Linked DNA regions of Homo sapiens: region 2 is linked to region 1. Evidence: promoter capture Hi-C in 16 types of primary human blood cells and fetal thymus (Javierre and others, 2016). All regions are on one chromosome and are shown on one strand. The core of a region is centred on a gene start or on the middle of the fragment in contact, and the rest is flanking DNA. Distances in the headings are between cores, read along the strand shown. Region 1 holds the start of ATG4D (autophagy related 4D cysteine peptidase). Region 2 overlaps ILF3 (interleukin enhancer binding factor 3).

The links. The method cuts DNA at HindIII sites, captures the fragments that hold promoters and counts their contacts. A CHiCAGO score of 5 or more calls a contact.
Region 2: a fragment that was not itself captured here is called in contact with the fragment with the promoter of ATG4D in region 1 in 9 of 17 cell types (M0 macrophages, neutrophils, M1 macrophages and 6 more); the score reaches 9.1 in M0 macrophages.

The regions. Positions count from the first base shown.
Region 1 is chr19:10,538,983-10,545,582 of GRCh38, reverse strand. It overlaps ATG4D (autophagy related 4D cysteine peptidase), which reads right to left and starts at 1,679. Exons shown (of 10, transcript NM_032885.6): 1 at 1,258-1,679; 2 at 717-800; 3 at 453-626. The coding sequence starts at 1,492. RefSeq lists an enhancer at 693-1,288 and silencers at 1,334-1,513, 1,564-1,903, 1,914-1,963. The HindIII fragment of the contact is 8,842 bases long and covers 1-6,451 here.
Region 2 is chr19:10,675,787-10,683,115 of GRCh38, reverse strand. ILF3 (interleukin enhancer binding factor 3) reads right to left here. Exons shown (of 20, transcript NM_017620.3): 5 at 5,806-5,953; 6 at 4,412-4,503; 7 at 3,924-4,019; 8 at 3,189-3,300; 9 at 2,673-2,770; 10 at 1,986-2,097; 11 at 1,787-1,897; 12 at 924-1,123; 13 at 412-579. Among named protein-coding and RNA genes, the nearest start is that of QTRT1, 22 kb to the left of the region's middle. The HindIII fragment of the contact is 7,906 bases long and covers 1-7,329 here.

The DNA.
Region 1 (6,600 bases), core at 430-2,929:
TTTTTATTTTTGACACAGAGTCTCCCTCTGTTGCCCAGGCTGGAGTGCAGTGGTGCGATCTTGGCTTGCTGTAACCTCCGCCTCCTGGGTTCAAGAGATTCTCCCACCTCAGCCTCGGGAGTAGCTGGGATTACAGGCGTGTGCCACCACAACCGGCTAATTTTTGTATTTTTAGTAGAGATGGGGTTTCATCATATTGGCCAGGCTGGTCTTGAACTCCTGACCGCAAGGGATCCATCCGCCTCAGCCTCCCAAAGTGCTAGGATTACAGGCATGAGCCACCGTTTCCAACCCCGGCTGAAACTCTTATAAACAACTCTCATCTCTCCAAAACTTACTTGACACACAATTCTAACGTGACTTTGAACTCTTAGTTGGTAAGTAATTCTAATACTGCTGATATGGCAGTTGACCCTGTACTCCTAGTGCACCCCTTCCCCCCTATGGCTCACCTCTGGGCAGGAAATGCAGCAGAAGGCCCTGTGCCAGCATCATCTGGCCGCTGCGTAACATGCACCCCCAGCCACAGTCCGAGGTCAGGCAGCCCCCAGGAAGGGGCGGGAAGTCCCGGCGGTATGTGAGCCACAGGCGGGACACAAAGTCCCGCTGGAAACGCTGTATGTCACCTACAAGAGCGGGTCTGTCAGCTGCCACCAGGGACACTCCGGCGGGCGTGGAGAGGCCTCCCCCAGCCCTGGTCCCAACCACCAGCTCACCCTCGCCCTCGAAACGGTAGCGGCGGCCACAGAGGTGGATGCTGGAGATCTTGCTAAAGCTGGTCCGGCTTTTAACCACCCAACCTGGGGAGACGTAGGGGCAGCGCCCAGCGAGATGAAGCACTTGCATGACAGCAACAGCGCTTCCATTCCCCCATCTGTGAAATGGGCACGATCCTAGTTCCTATCTCCGGGGTGGCTCCGGGGATTCCGTCGGAGGTGGGGCCCCCAGTGACAGCTACAGGAGTGTCCACCATCAATTCAGGATGAAGGAAGGTAGTTCTGATTATTGTACCCATTTTACAGAGAGGGGCAAAAACGGAGGCGCCAGGAAGCAAAGGATCTTGCCCAAGGTCACACAGGGGAATGGGCGGGGCTTGAAAACACTATTGGACCTGCCACAGGTCCACCCTGGGCCGGGCAGGGAGGGGACCCACAGGTGACTCAGGACGGGAACAAGGGTGGGATAACTGGCAGGACCGGGGTCTGGTTTTCCTCAACGGCCCCCGACACCCCCACGATCTCCGGGCCCCCTCCTCACCGTACTTGACGTTGTTCCAGGCTGTCAGGAACTTGGCCTTGAACTTGTCCACTTCGTCCGGCTCACTCGGGCCAGCCCCGGGAGAGCCAAGAGCGGGGCCGCTGGCTCCGGAAGGCCCCAGGCCGTTGGGGTCTGGGCCTCTGGGACCCCGCGGCCTGCGGGCCTCGGGCCGGCGGCGCGCGTCCTCCGGGCTGCTGCTCCGGTACTGCGCGGCGGCCGGCGACACTGAGTTCATGGACGCGCCGGGAGGGCGGACCGAGGGCCCAGGTGGGGGGCTGCGGCCGCTGCCCCCCAAGGGCGACCCGCAGCCGGTTCACGGGGCCCGGGGAAGGCGCTACTCGGCCCCCGTCCCCAGGGTACCGGGCCAGGCAACAGCCGCCGCCGCTGCTACCGCAGCCATCGCCATCTTAGCGGGCCAGGACCCCGGATGACGGTGGGCGTGGCCAAGCCAGACGCCCCGCCCCGCCCTCTCCCCGCCCAGCCGCCTTTCCTGCCCCGATCCCGGGTCGCCAGGCGGGGACCTCAAACCCCGACGCCTTCCCGCGGCCTCCCCCCGCCCTCCTTATCACACCGCCAGGAGCGCGACAGCCCCTTCAGGCCCTTATCGGAGGCAGCAGAGCTGGGGAACCCCTGCCCCTGGCCCCGCCCCTAGTCCTGCCCCCCAGGGCCCAGGACTGACCTCCTGGCAGGCGCCCAGGTGAGACTGACTGCGCACCTGCAGCGCCCGCCCCGCCTCCCGAGTGCACCTGCGCGGGCTGCCGACCCAGAACCCGCCCTGGCCTGGGACCAAATCGACTAGTGTGACCTCCGGGGCAAGCCACGCCTCTCTGTGCCTCAGTTTCCTCATGTGCAAAATAGGGCTGGAATACACGCAACAACATAGACGAATCTTCATGAGAATTATGCTCAGGGAAAAAAAATCCAGGGGTAGGCAGGCGCGGGAGGGAGGGATGAATGAAGTGCTCCAGGAAAGTTTTTTTCAGTGTTTGTTTTGTCGAGACAGCATCTGGCTCTGTTGTCCAGACTGGAGTGCAGTGGCGCTTTCATAGCTCACTGCAGCCTCCAACTCTGATCCTCCAACCTCAGCCTCCAGAGTAGCTGAGACCGCAGACAGGAGCCACCATGCCTGGTTAATTTTTTAAATTTTATTTGTAGATAAGGGGTCTCGCTATGTTGTCTAGGCTGGTCTCAAACTCCTGGCTTCATGAGATCCTCCCGCCTCAGCCTCCCAAATGCTGGGATTACAGGCGTGAGCCACCACCTCAGGCAGGAAGACATTTTTTGGAGCTGTGGATAAATTCAGTATCTTAACTGTAATAGTGGCTTCACAGGTGTGAAAACTCATCAGATTGTACGCTTAAAATTTGCATGGTTTTGTATATGTCTATTATACCTCAATAAGGCTGAAAAAAAACCTCTTTGTTTTAAAAAGTAATCAGTTAACTTTTTATAGAGACAAGTTCTCTCTATGTTGCCCAGGCTGGCCTGAAACTCCTTAGCTCAAGTGATCCTCCTGCCTCAGCCTCCCAAGTAGCTGAGACTACAGGAAAATATTTTATTTTATTTTATTTTTTAATTTTTTTTCTCTAACCTTGCGAGGCCCAAACAGATTTTGGTTGTTGTTGTTGAGACAGGGTCTTGCTCTGTCATCCAGACTACAGTGCAGTGGCCTGATCATGGCTCACTGCAGTCTCAACTGCCGAGGCTTAAGCAAGTCTCCTGCCTCAGCCACCTGAGTAGCTAGGACTATAGGCACATGCCACCACCCCTGGCTAATTTTTTTTTTTTTTTTTGAGACGGAGTCTCGTTCTGTTGCCCAGGTTGGAGTGCAATGGCGCGATCTCGACTCACTGCAAGCTCTGTCTCCCAGGTTCACACCATTCTCTTGCCTCAGCCTCCCGAGTAGCTGGGACTACAGGCGCCCGCCACCACGCCTGGCTGATTTTTTGTATTTTTAGTAGAGACGAGGTTTCATCGTGTTAGCCAGGATGGTCTCGATCTCCTGACCTCGTGATCCGCCCACCTCGGCCTCCCAAAGTGCTGGGATTACAGGCGTGGGCCACCGTGCCTGGCCACCCCTGGCTAATTTTTAAAAATTTTTCTGTAGAGATAGAGTCTCCCAGTGTTGCTCAGGCTAGTCTTGAACTCCTGGGCTGAAACGATTAGCCTCAGCCTCCCAAAGTTCTAGGATGACAGACATGAGCCACTGCACCTGGCCAGGGACAATTTTTATTTTTTATTTTATTTTCATTTATTTATGTATTTATTTTGAGATGGAGTTTCGCTCTTGTTGCCCAGGCTGGAGTGCACTAGTGCGATCTTGGCTCACTGCAACCACCACCTCTCAGGTTCAAGCAATTCTGCTGCCTCAGCCTCCTGAGTAGCTGGGATTACGGGCGCACACCACCACGCCCAGCTAATTTTTGTATTTTTAGTAGAGATAGGATTCCACCACGTTGGCCAGGCTGGTCTCGAACTCCTGACTGAGGTGATCCGCCAGCCTCGGCCTCCCAAAGTGCTGGGATTACAGGCATGAGCGATTGCACCCAGCCAGGAAAAAGTTTTAAATGTGTCTAACTCATAAAGATGTATGGGAATGAGCTGAACTTACCAATGTAAAGTGCTTAGAGTGGTATTTGAGGAACAGTTGGGGCTCAGTGAGAGCCAACTGCATGATGACAATGCAGTGACCCTGTGAGCCATGGAGAGGGTGGCCTCTAGTGGCCAGCCCCGGGGCTCTGTCCTCAGCTCTCTGAAGGAGGTAAGAAAGATTTGAATGAGGGTGTGATCCAAGAAGGAGAAGGCACAAAAGGGGCAGTCACCTCCCTGACTTTCCTTTTTTCCCCTCTCCTCCCAGTCGCCTTCAATCACAATTGACCCCTTTCTCTTTCATTAATTTATTAATTTATTGATTTATTTTATTTTATTTTTTTGAGACAGAGTCTTGCTCTGTAGCCCAGGCTGGAGTGCACTGGCACAATCTCAGCTCACTGCAACCTCCGCCTCCCAGGTTCAAGCAATTCTCCTGCCTCAGCCTCTGGAGTAGCTGGGATTACAGGTGTGAGCCACCACACCCGGCTAATTTTATATTTTTAGTAGAGACAGAGTTTCACCATGTTGACCAGGCTGGTCTTGAACTCCTGACCTCAGGTGATCTGCCCGCCTGGGCCTCCCAAAGTGCTGGGATTACAGGCTTGAGCCACTGCAACCAGCCAAGTGCACCCTTTCTCAAACTCAACAGAGCCAATGCCACCTCAGAGTCTTTGCACTTGCTGTTCCCTCTGCCCAGACCACGTTTCTTACCATGGCTCTCCGTCACCTCCTTCAGGTCTTTTTTTTTTTTTTTGGCAGGGTCTCACTTTGTTGCCCAGGCTGGAGTGCAGTGGCACGATCATAACTCACTGCAACCACGACCTTCTGGGCACCAGTGATCCTCCTGCCTCCTGAGTAGCTGGGATTACAGGCATGTGCCACCACACCCAGCTAATTTTTATATTTTTAGTAGAAATGGGGTTTCACCATGTTGGCCAGGCTGGTCTCGAACTCCTGACCTCAAGTAATCCACCCACCTCAGCCTCCCAAAGTACTGGGATTACAGACGTGAGACACTGTGCCCGGCCGCAAGTCTTTATTCAAATATCACCCCTACACGAAGATTACCACTCTCAAAATTCTCCCCCATCTCCATCCTTGGTCTCCTTCTCTTCCCTGCCTTTTTCCCCCTCCCCGCCGCATGGGAGTAGTTATCACAACCTTACTGTCTTTATCCCCTTGGGCTGCTGTGACAAATACCATAGCCTTGGGGGCTAAAACAACACACCTTTGCTTCTCACAGTTCTAGAGGCTAGAAAGTCCCAGATCAGGGTGCCAGCATGGTTCTTGGTGGGATTCTCTTCTATTTTTTGTTTTGTTTTGTTTTTTTGTTTTAGATGGAGTTTTTGCCCAGGCTGGAGTGCAATGGCAATCTCGGCTCACCACAACCTCTGCCTCCCGGGTTCAAGCGATTCTCCTGCCTCAGCCTCCCGAGTAACTGGGATTACAGGCGCCCACCACCACACCTGGCTAATTTTTTGTATTTTTGGTAGAGACAGGGTTTCTCCATGTTGCTCAGGCTGGTCTCGAACTCCCGACCTCAGGTGATCTGCCTGCCTTGGCCTCCCAAAGTGCTGGGATTACAGGCGTGAGCCACCGCGCCCAGCTGAGATTCTCTTCTTATCTTATATCCTCTCACCTGCCTTCCTTTCTTTTTTTTTTTTTTTTCTCACAGTCTCACTCTGTTGCCAGTACTGGAGTGCAGTGGCATCATGATCTTGGCTCACTGAAGCCTTGACATCCTGGTCTCAGCCGGGCTCGGTGGCTCATGCCTGTAATCCCAGCACTTTGGGAGGCCGAGGCAGGCAGATCACGAGGTCAGGAGATAAAGACCATCCTGGCTAACACAGTGAAACACAAAAAATTAGCCAGGTATGGTGGCGGGCGCCTGTAGTCCCAGCTACTCAGGAGACTGAGGCAGGAGAATGGTGTGAGGGCCCCACCCTCAAGATTGCGTCCAACCCCAATTCCCTTTTTTTTTTTTTTTGAGACAGAGTCTCACTCTGTTGCCCAGGCTGGAGTACAGTGGCGCGATCTTGGCCCACTGCAACCTCGACCTCATGGATTCAAGTGATTCTCCTGCCTCAGCCTCCCGAGTAGCTGGGATTACAGGCACGCGCCACCACACCCAGCTAATTTTTTGTATTTTTAGTAGAGACAGGTTTCGCCACGTCGGCCAGGCTAGTCTTGAACGCCTGACCTCAGGGTATCTGCCCTCCTCAGCCTCTCAAAGTGCTGGGATTACAGGCATGAACCACTGTGCCCAAGTGTATTATTTTCGAGACAGAGTCTCACTCTGTCACCCAGGCTGGAGTTCAGTGGTTCAATCAGGACTCATGGCAGCCTTGACCTCCTGGGCTCAAGTGATCCTGCCTGAGCCTCCTGAGTAGCTGGCACCGTGGGCACACACAACCGCATTCCATTGGAGTTGACCACTTTGAGCCCAGTGTAGGCCCAGGGGTCTTTGGATTCTGCACTCAGTACAGACTGTGCAGCCAGATGGCTCAGATAAGGGACCTCGCCACTCTCTGCCTCAGTTCCTTTTTCTTTGAGAGATGGGGTTGGGCAACTCGCTCGGGTCCCCTTCCACACTGTGGAAGCTTTGTTCTTTCGCTCTTTGCAATAAATCTTGCTACTGCTCACTCTTTGGGTCCACACTGCCTTTAAGAGCTGTAACACTCACCGCAAAGGTCTGTAGCTTCACTCCCGAGCCAGCGAGACCACGAACCCACCAGAAGGAAGAAACTCCGA
Region 2 (7,329 bases), core at 2,369-4,868, 140 kb before region 1:
AACAGAAAAGAAGACCGACAAACTCAGCTATGGGCATTCCAGTCACATGGGAGGAGTGGCAGGACTGAGGCAGGGCCTCTGCTCTTCATACACTGCCAGCCCTTGCCAGAGTCTCCACTGACTCTAGTGAGGGCCTTCCAGCAATGTGCCCCCTTCCTGTGCCTCCCCTCTGAACAGCACGTTATCAACCCAAGGCCACCCCAGTGTAGCCTATAGGATGCTGGGACAACATCCACAAGGCCCTCCCCGACACGGCTCGGAGGGCAGCACCCAGCTTCCTGTGCGGACTTCTGGCCTGAAAGGTCCACTTTTTGGGGCAAATTAACAAGGACCAGTAACCACCTCACTGACAGGACACATGGCTGCCTGCTCTGTCCAGGCAGTCACTCCCAGCGCCCACCATGTGCTCACCTCGGCAGTGGCATCTGAGGGAAAGGCCGCACTAGGGGTGGAGACAGCTTCTACCACTGGGGCAGGGGCCACCACTGCTGGCTTCGCCTCGGTCTCCTCAGCCGAGTCCTCCCCCTTGCTCGAGTCCCTGCCTTCAGCACCCGTCGGCAAGCCCATGTCCTGTAACACCTGCAGAGGTGGCAAGACCCCCAAGGTCCCAGTGAAGCAGGGCTGCATGCAGGGCCTCCTCATGGCCTACAGGCACCCACCCGGGAAGCCATCTGGAGGAGGGCTGTTTCCTTTCAGCTCCTGCTCCCAGGAGGCCCTAATGCCCCAATCATGTTTGGGGACCCCTCTGCCTGCCAGCCACAGTGGGAAGGCGTTCTTGCCACGTGACTTGGCAAATACTCGCCATCTAACCATGTGTATTTTTAGAATCTACATGCCCTCCCTGAGAGACAATGGCTCAGAAGGGGCCCAAAACAAAGACCATGGTTCTGCTATTAGAAGACAGTGATGCTGGCCACACTCACCTTAACGGCCACGTGCAGCTTGGCCGTCTTTTTGGAGGGCCCAGAGGCCTCGAATGAATTGCCATCAACCTCCACAGACATGGTAAAGATGGGGGCATGGACGGGCCCAGTCTGGGACACCAGCTTGTACTGCAGCCCTGGCTTCAGCTGGTTCAACCGCATCAGGGCATTCATAGCCTGGGGGGGCTCTGCCTTCTCCTCTACAGAGAGAATAGCAAGGTGGCTCTGGATCAGCACGATGGCAGGTCTCCACGAGAGCTCTGCCAATCCTAACCCCCAGGGCTGCCTCTGTGGCGTAACACAGTGGGTGGGGCAGCCACACAAACTGAGCCCAGCTTGCACCTCTCCTGTGGCCTCCAGCTGTAGCACCACCATCCTACTCATCTTCCACATCCCCAATCATGCCTCATCATTGTTAAAAGGACTCAGAAATCACAAGTGAGAAAAATGAAACAAAAGCAGCCATCCCATAGCTTCAGGGTGAGCCTTCACAGGACCAGATGGATAAAGCAGCAGCACTAGTGGAGGTCTGCACCTTCCTGCTTTTTTACCTATTTAGCTTCTAAAATTTTTCAACACTGATTTTAAGCAAGGTCTCGCTCTGTTGCCCAGGCTGGAGTACAGTTGCTCACTGCAACCTCCGCCTCCCAGGCTCAAGCCATCCTCCCATCTCAGCCTCCCAAGTAGCTGGCACTACAGGTGCGCCACCACACCCAGCTAATTTTTGTATTTTTTGTAGAGACGGGGTTTCGCCATGTTGCCCAGGCTGATGGTCTCAAAACTCCTGAGCTCAAGCGATTCTCCCGCCTCGGCCTCCCAAAGTGCTGGGATTACAGGCGTGAGCCACCGCGCCCGGCCTGTACCTTTCTTCTGAATCTTCTTCTTCTTTTTGCTGGGCGACTTCTCCTCCCCGTCCTCCTCCATTGGGCGTTTCATGGGCGTAATGGCATAGGTGGTGCTTGGTGGGATCTGAACTGCAAGGAGAGACCAGGGCATGGCTGGGAGATGCAGATGGTGACTCTTCCTGGAGCCCCAGCCATCAGGCAACCGCCGCAGGCTTACCGGTGTAGTCCACTGGGTTTTCATTCTTTGGTTTCTTGGGCATCTTGGAAGGCAGAGGGTCCATGCCTAGGACTTTATGGAGCTGGCCGAAGGCAGCGAGCCGCAGTGCGTGCTGGAGAAGGGGAAGAGGCTCTGACTCAGCTGCCCTGTGCTCCCGGCCATGGAGTGTGTGCTCACTACTGCCTTCTGAGGAGGGGCAGAGCTGAAGGGCTGCTAATGGTCTCCCTTACGACAGCAAGGGGTCCCCCACCAGCCAGGGGAGAGCCTGACTGCTCAAGCCCAGCCTTGCTGTGGGGGAAGGCCAGCCTGTGACCACCCCCCTTCCAAAGGAATACAGGAGACCCCAACCTGGGGACTGGTTGCCACACGGAGCCATGTGGGGGCCTGCAGGGGAAGGTCCCCCCGGAGCAGTCCGCACAGCAAACACATCTCCCAGCACCACTCACAGTGTCTGAAAACGGCACTCGAGCAAGCCAAGGGAGGGGGCAGATGAAAACCACGCATGGCACCAGGGGAAAGAAGCAGCCCAGATTGGGGCGCCCTGTATCAGACACAATCCTTTTGCCTTCAGTCCCCGACCTGAGCCTACGAGTCCAGGGGCTACCCTGGGAATACCCAGTAATGGAACTGGAAGCCAGTGATTACAGACTGGGTCAGGGCGCACGTTGGCAATGGCGATGACTATACCTGCGCACTCTGTGTGATATCTTCCCGTTGCTGTCTGTCTAGATGCCCAATAGCATCAGTGGCTTCTTTTTCACAAGGGTCATAAATGCCAGAACCATCTGAAGGCAGGAAACAAGGAAGATATGCAGAGGATTATCTTTTAGCATCTCTGAAGAGGTGTGCTGGCTGAGGGAACTAGGTGTGTTACCCCCCGCGCCCCATCCACACCCAGCTCTGGAAAACATGCCTAGCTCGGTGACCCACTCGGCGTCCAGCCCTTGACAGAAATAATTCACAAGTGTCTCAGAGCAAGAAAGTCACGTGGGAGTGGGTCACCACTGCCCCGGATCCGCCCTCTGAATGACGGCTGCGGACCCGGTCAGGGCTGGATATGATGGTGCCAGAGGGTAGTCACATGCTTCAGCTCTAGGGGGTGGACACGGGGCTGCTGCTGTCCTAACCCAGTCAGTGTACCCGCCAGGAGGCGGCCTGGAACCCTGTCCTTTCCCTGCAACCTGCAAAGCACAAGGCCCCAACCTGGCATCACGATGCCCGACGCCAGGCACTCCAGCACTCTCCGCAGGGCCTCGCCAGCACCCATCGGTCTGTTGGCCGTGCCAATGGATTTCTCACACAGGAGCTCGAGAGGCTGAAAGGGAAGAGGGACAGTGAGCCAAGAGCCTACAGGATGGGGCCGGCCGCCACTGGGGAGCTGTCACTGCATGAGTGGGTCGGGGCACACGTGGGACTCATAGCCAACCAGTCGGGTAAAGTCAAAGCCTCAGGGCTAAGCCTGAGCCAGGGCATCTAGGACAGGGGCCTTCAAGGACCAGACATGACATCCTAGCAGGCTGTGTGAGCTCAGAGACCAAGCTAAGGTTATGATGTAGTACTTCTTACTTAAAATCTAACCATTTATTTACAAATATAAAAACCACCTCAACTGCAAGCTGAAAAAAAAAAGGGTGCAACTGCCAAAAACTGGTCCTGCGTGAGACTATCTACAAACCTTCCCAGAGGGATCATTCCCACCTCCTGGTCAGCCCCCACTCCTGGGATTGAGCTGTGCGACCCTGCAGAGGGCCCCGACCCACACTGCCCCAACCCCAACCCCAGGTGTGGCAAGCAGGAGCAGCTCCACAGGCAGCTCTGGAGAGTACACACCAGCCACGCGTCAAGAGGCCACTCCTGCCCCGTGACCATCAAGTGTTCCTGGGATATCCAAAAGACTCTGCACACACCACCCCCAGTAGCCACAGCAACATGCCTTACCCAGCCTCGGAGGGGACCCCAGGTGGGCACGCGAGTGCACAGGTCCCTCAAGACCCGGATCACAATGACACAAGACTTCAGCCCGTTGGCTCTGGCCTAGGGGAACAAAACACAGGCTCTTCAGTCTGAGGCACCGCCCAGGGCACAAGTCAACATGAACGACACAAGTGTCAGGTTGCTGCTTTGCCAAGGGTAAACAGTCAACACTGGCGACCACCAAGGCTGTGGCCAGCCGCAATGTCACTACGTGTACAAGAGAGTGTTACTCTTAACACAAAGCAGCAGCAGCAGCAGCAGCCCACCAACTCAGTCTCAGCCTCTTTTGGGGTCGAATTTGTTGAGGTGCACTCCTTTAGGACCTGCGCAGCTGCAGGTGCTAAGCTCGGCACGGCTATCGTCAATGTTAAGGAATCTTTATGGTGACAGTTAGCCAAGTTAAAACTTAGGAATTCTCTACCAAAAGACAAATAGAAGAACAAAATGCAAACCTGGAACCACTTGGCGTGTCGGAGGGACGCCAAGGCAGCAAGGCATTTCTGCCTGTCCAGAACGTCCGGGGGGTCGTTGACTGATAGCGTTTCTATTCATGGATGGAATAAGAAGACAAGGCACAGTTTGACCAAGGGGTTTCTGTCAGGTGGAAAGGGGATGTGGCAGCTTTCTAAAGGGCAGCTGAGTTTCCCAGAAGCTGAATTCATCTCCACCCTGGACCAGGGAAGGAGAAACTAGAGCACATTCAACTCTGCCCTGTGAGGAAATTGTAAAAATTGGAGGCCCCCTCCAAAAATAAAAAGAAAAAGAAAAAAGAAAGAAAAAGAAAAAATAAAACAAACATAAAAACAAAAGTGGGGAGTTATTCTAAAAGGAATAATCTCATGAGGGAGGGGAGAGATAGGTGGAGCCTATCTTCTAATCCTCTTCCCTTGCCTCCTCCCCATGTTCTCCCAATAAATTAGCTATGCTAAAATGTTCAATAGGAAAAAATTTAAAAAGGCCGAGGGAGAGGAAATGAACTCCCTCTCTGCATCACACAACAGCCATCCCAAGGCATCTGCAGCAAAGGGGACCAACTCCGCCCACCAGGCGGGACTGCCCTAGCCCCAGCCCTTGACAGAGAGAGTCCTGTTGGTCAAAGGTCCAGCGTCCCTACGTTGATCAACTAGAAGGGCTTTGGTAGTCGGAATCAGCTATGAGAACCAAAGGTAAACAGCAACAAGGGCGCTATGCCAGCCTATGCTGCGGCCAAGCAGAGCGTTTATCTTCTCTGCCATCTGCACACCAGGGGTTTGGATAAGGCCTGAAGACAGGCATGCGAGCGGCGGGCCATGGACTGCGAGCACATTATTAGCGTGAGGTCCAATGATGTGGTTTGAAAAATTGGACAACAGTTTAAAACTTTATCCAAAACTCTGTATCAGCTCTTTGTGCTTCTGTCACTTTAAATGATAAAAGAGCCATGACAGAGGACAAACGAAGAGGCCCTCAGCTCAGCTGCAGCACAGGCTGTTGGTAAACTCCAACGTGGTGCTCATGCAGAAACCATCTGGTTGTCTCATCTTTAAAACCATGGAATCACCAGGGACACTTCTCCACAGCCAGAGAATGGCTCCATAGAAAAGCAACTTCCACATTCATGTTTGAGAACGTTCAAGGATGAAGATAAAGGAAAATGGTGCAGTCCCCTATGAAAAGTGCTACTCACTTTTAGTGCGACTGTTTTGTCAAACTCCCAAGTACTCAAAGCCAACGGGAGATGTGATCTCAGAGTAAAGGTGGTCAATCTACACCGTATACCAAAGCAGTCTAAAACTGAATAGCACATTTGAATAGTGAGGGAACACCACATTTTCAAAGTCCTGCCGGCGTGTCTCGGCCTCCCTACCTCCAGCTAATACTTTCTCCATTTCTTCTCTGACAACAGGGGATGTCAGGTGGATGGTCAGGGACAATGGAGGCTCTTTTGTGTTTTTTATCACAATCGCAGCATCGTCGACAGATTGCAGTATTTCGTACTTGTCTTCTGTTACAGCCTAAAAAATAAAATGCAACTTTCAAAACACTTTCTCCTCAAAGCAATCAACAATTTTATCTGGCTCCACCTATTCCTGCAACAGAAAGGCCAACGTCTTGAGTATGATGACCCGGAAGTGATTTCACCTGGGATGTCAGGGTCTCTCTAATTGGCCAGGTCTTTGGCCACGTTTTGGGTACTTGAAAGAGGGATAACTAGTGAAAGAAGCGATTTCCAAACGGTGCTTAAAAATGCAATGGTAGGGCTGGGAGCCGTGGCTCATGCCTGCAATCCCAGCACTTTGGGAGTCCGAGGTGAGTGGATCACGAGGTCAGGAGATCGAGACCATCCTGGATAACCCGGTGAAACACCATCTCTACTAAAAATACAAAAAACTAGCCGGGCGTGGTAGCAGGCACCTGTAGTCCCAGCTACTCGGGAGGCTGAGGCAGGAGAATGGCGTGAACACGGGAGGCGGAGCTTGCAGTGAGCTGAGATCACACCACTGCACTCCAGCCTGGGCGACAGAGCGAGACTCTATCTCAAAAACAAAAACAAAAACAAAACAACAAACAAACAAAAAAGCAATGTTAGGCCAGGTGCAGTGGCTCACGCCTGTAATCCCAGCACTTTAGGAGGCTGAGGTGGGCGGATCACAAGGTCAGGAGATCGAGACCATCCTGGCTAACAGGGTGAAATCCCATCTCTACTAAAAATACAAAAAAACTAGCTGGGCGTGGTGGCGGGTGCCTGTAGTCCCAGCTACTCAGGAGGCTGAGGCAGGAGAATGGCGTGAACCCGGAAGGCAGAGCTTGCAGTGAGGCAAGATCATGCCACTGCACTCCAGCCTGGGCAACAGAGCGAGACTCTGTCTCAAAAAAAAAAAAACCAAAAAAAAAAAAAAAAAAAAAAAAAAACAAACAAACAAAAAAGCAATGTTAGGCCAGGTGAGGTGGCTCACGCCTGTAATCCCAGCACTTTGGGAGGCTGAGTGGGCAGATCAGCTGAGGTCAGGTCAGGAGTTCAAGATCAACCTGGCCAACATGGTGAAACCCCATCCCTACTAAAAATACAAAAATTAGCTGGGTGCAGTGGAAGCGTGTAGTCCCAGATACTCAGAAGACTGAAGGAGGAGACTCGCTTAAACCAGGGAGGCAGATGCTGCAGTGAGCTGAGATCGCGCCACTACATTCCAGCCTGGGTGACAAGAGTGAGACTCAGTCTCCAAAAAAAAACCAATGGCAAAGAGTTTCGGATCCAGGAGCCAGGAGGAGGAGACCCCCCTTTTGCCCTTTAGTAGTTGATCAACTTTGGATAAATCACTCTCATACAGACTCTAATCTGTATAATGGACTTAATGACACGAACTACACCACAAGGCTGCTGGAAGCCTCA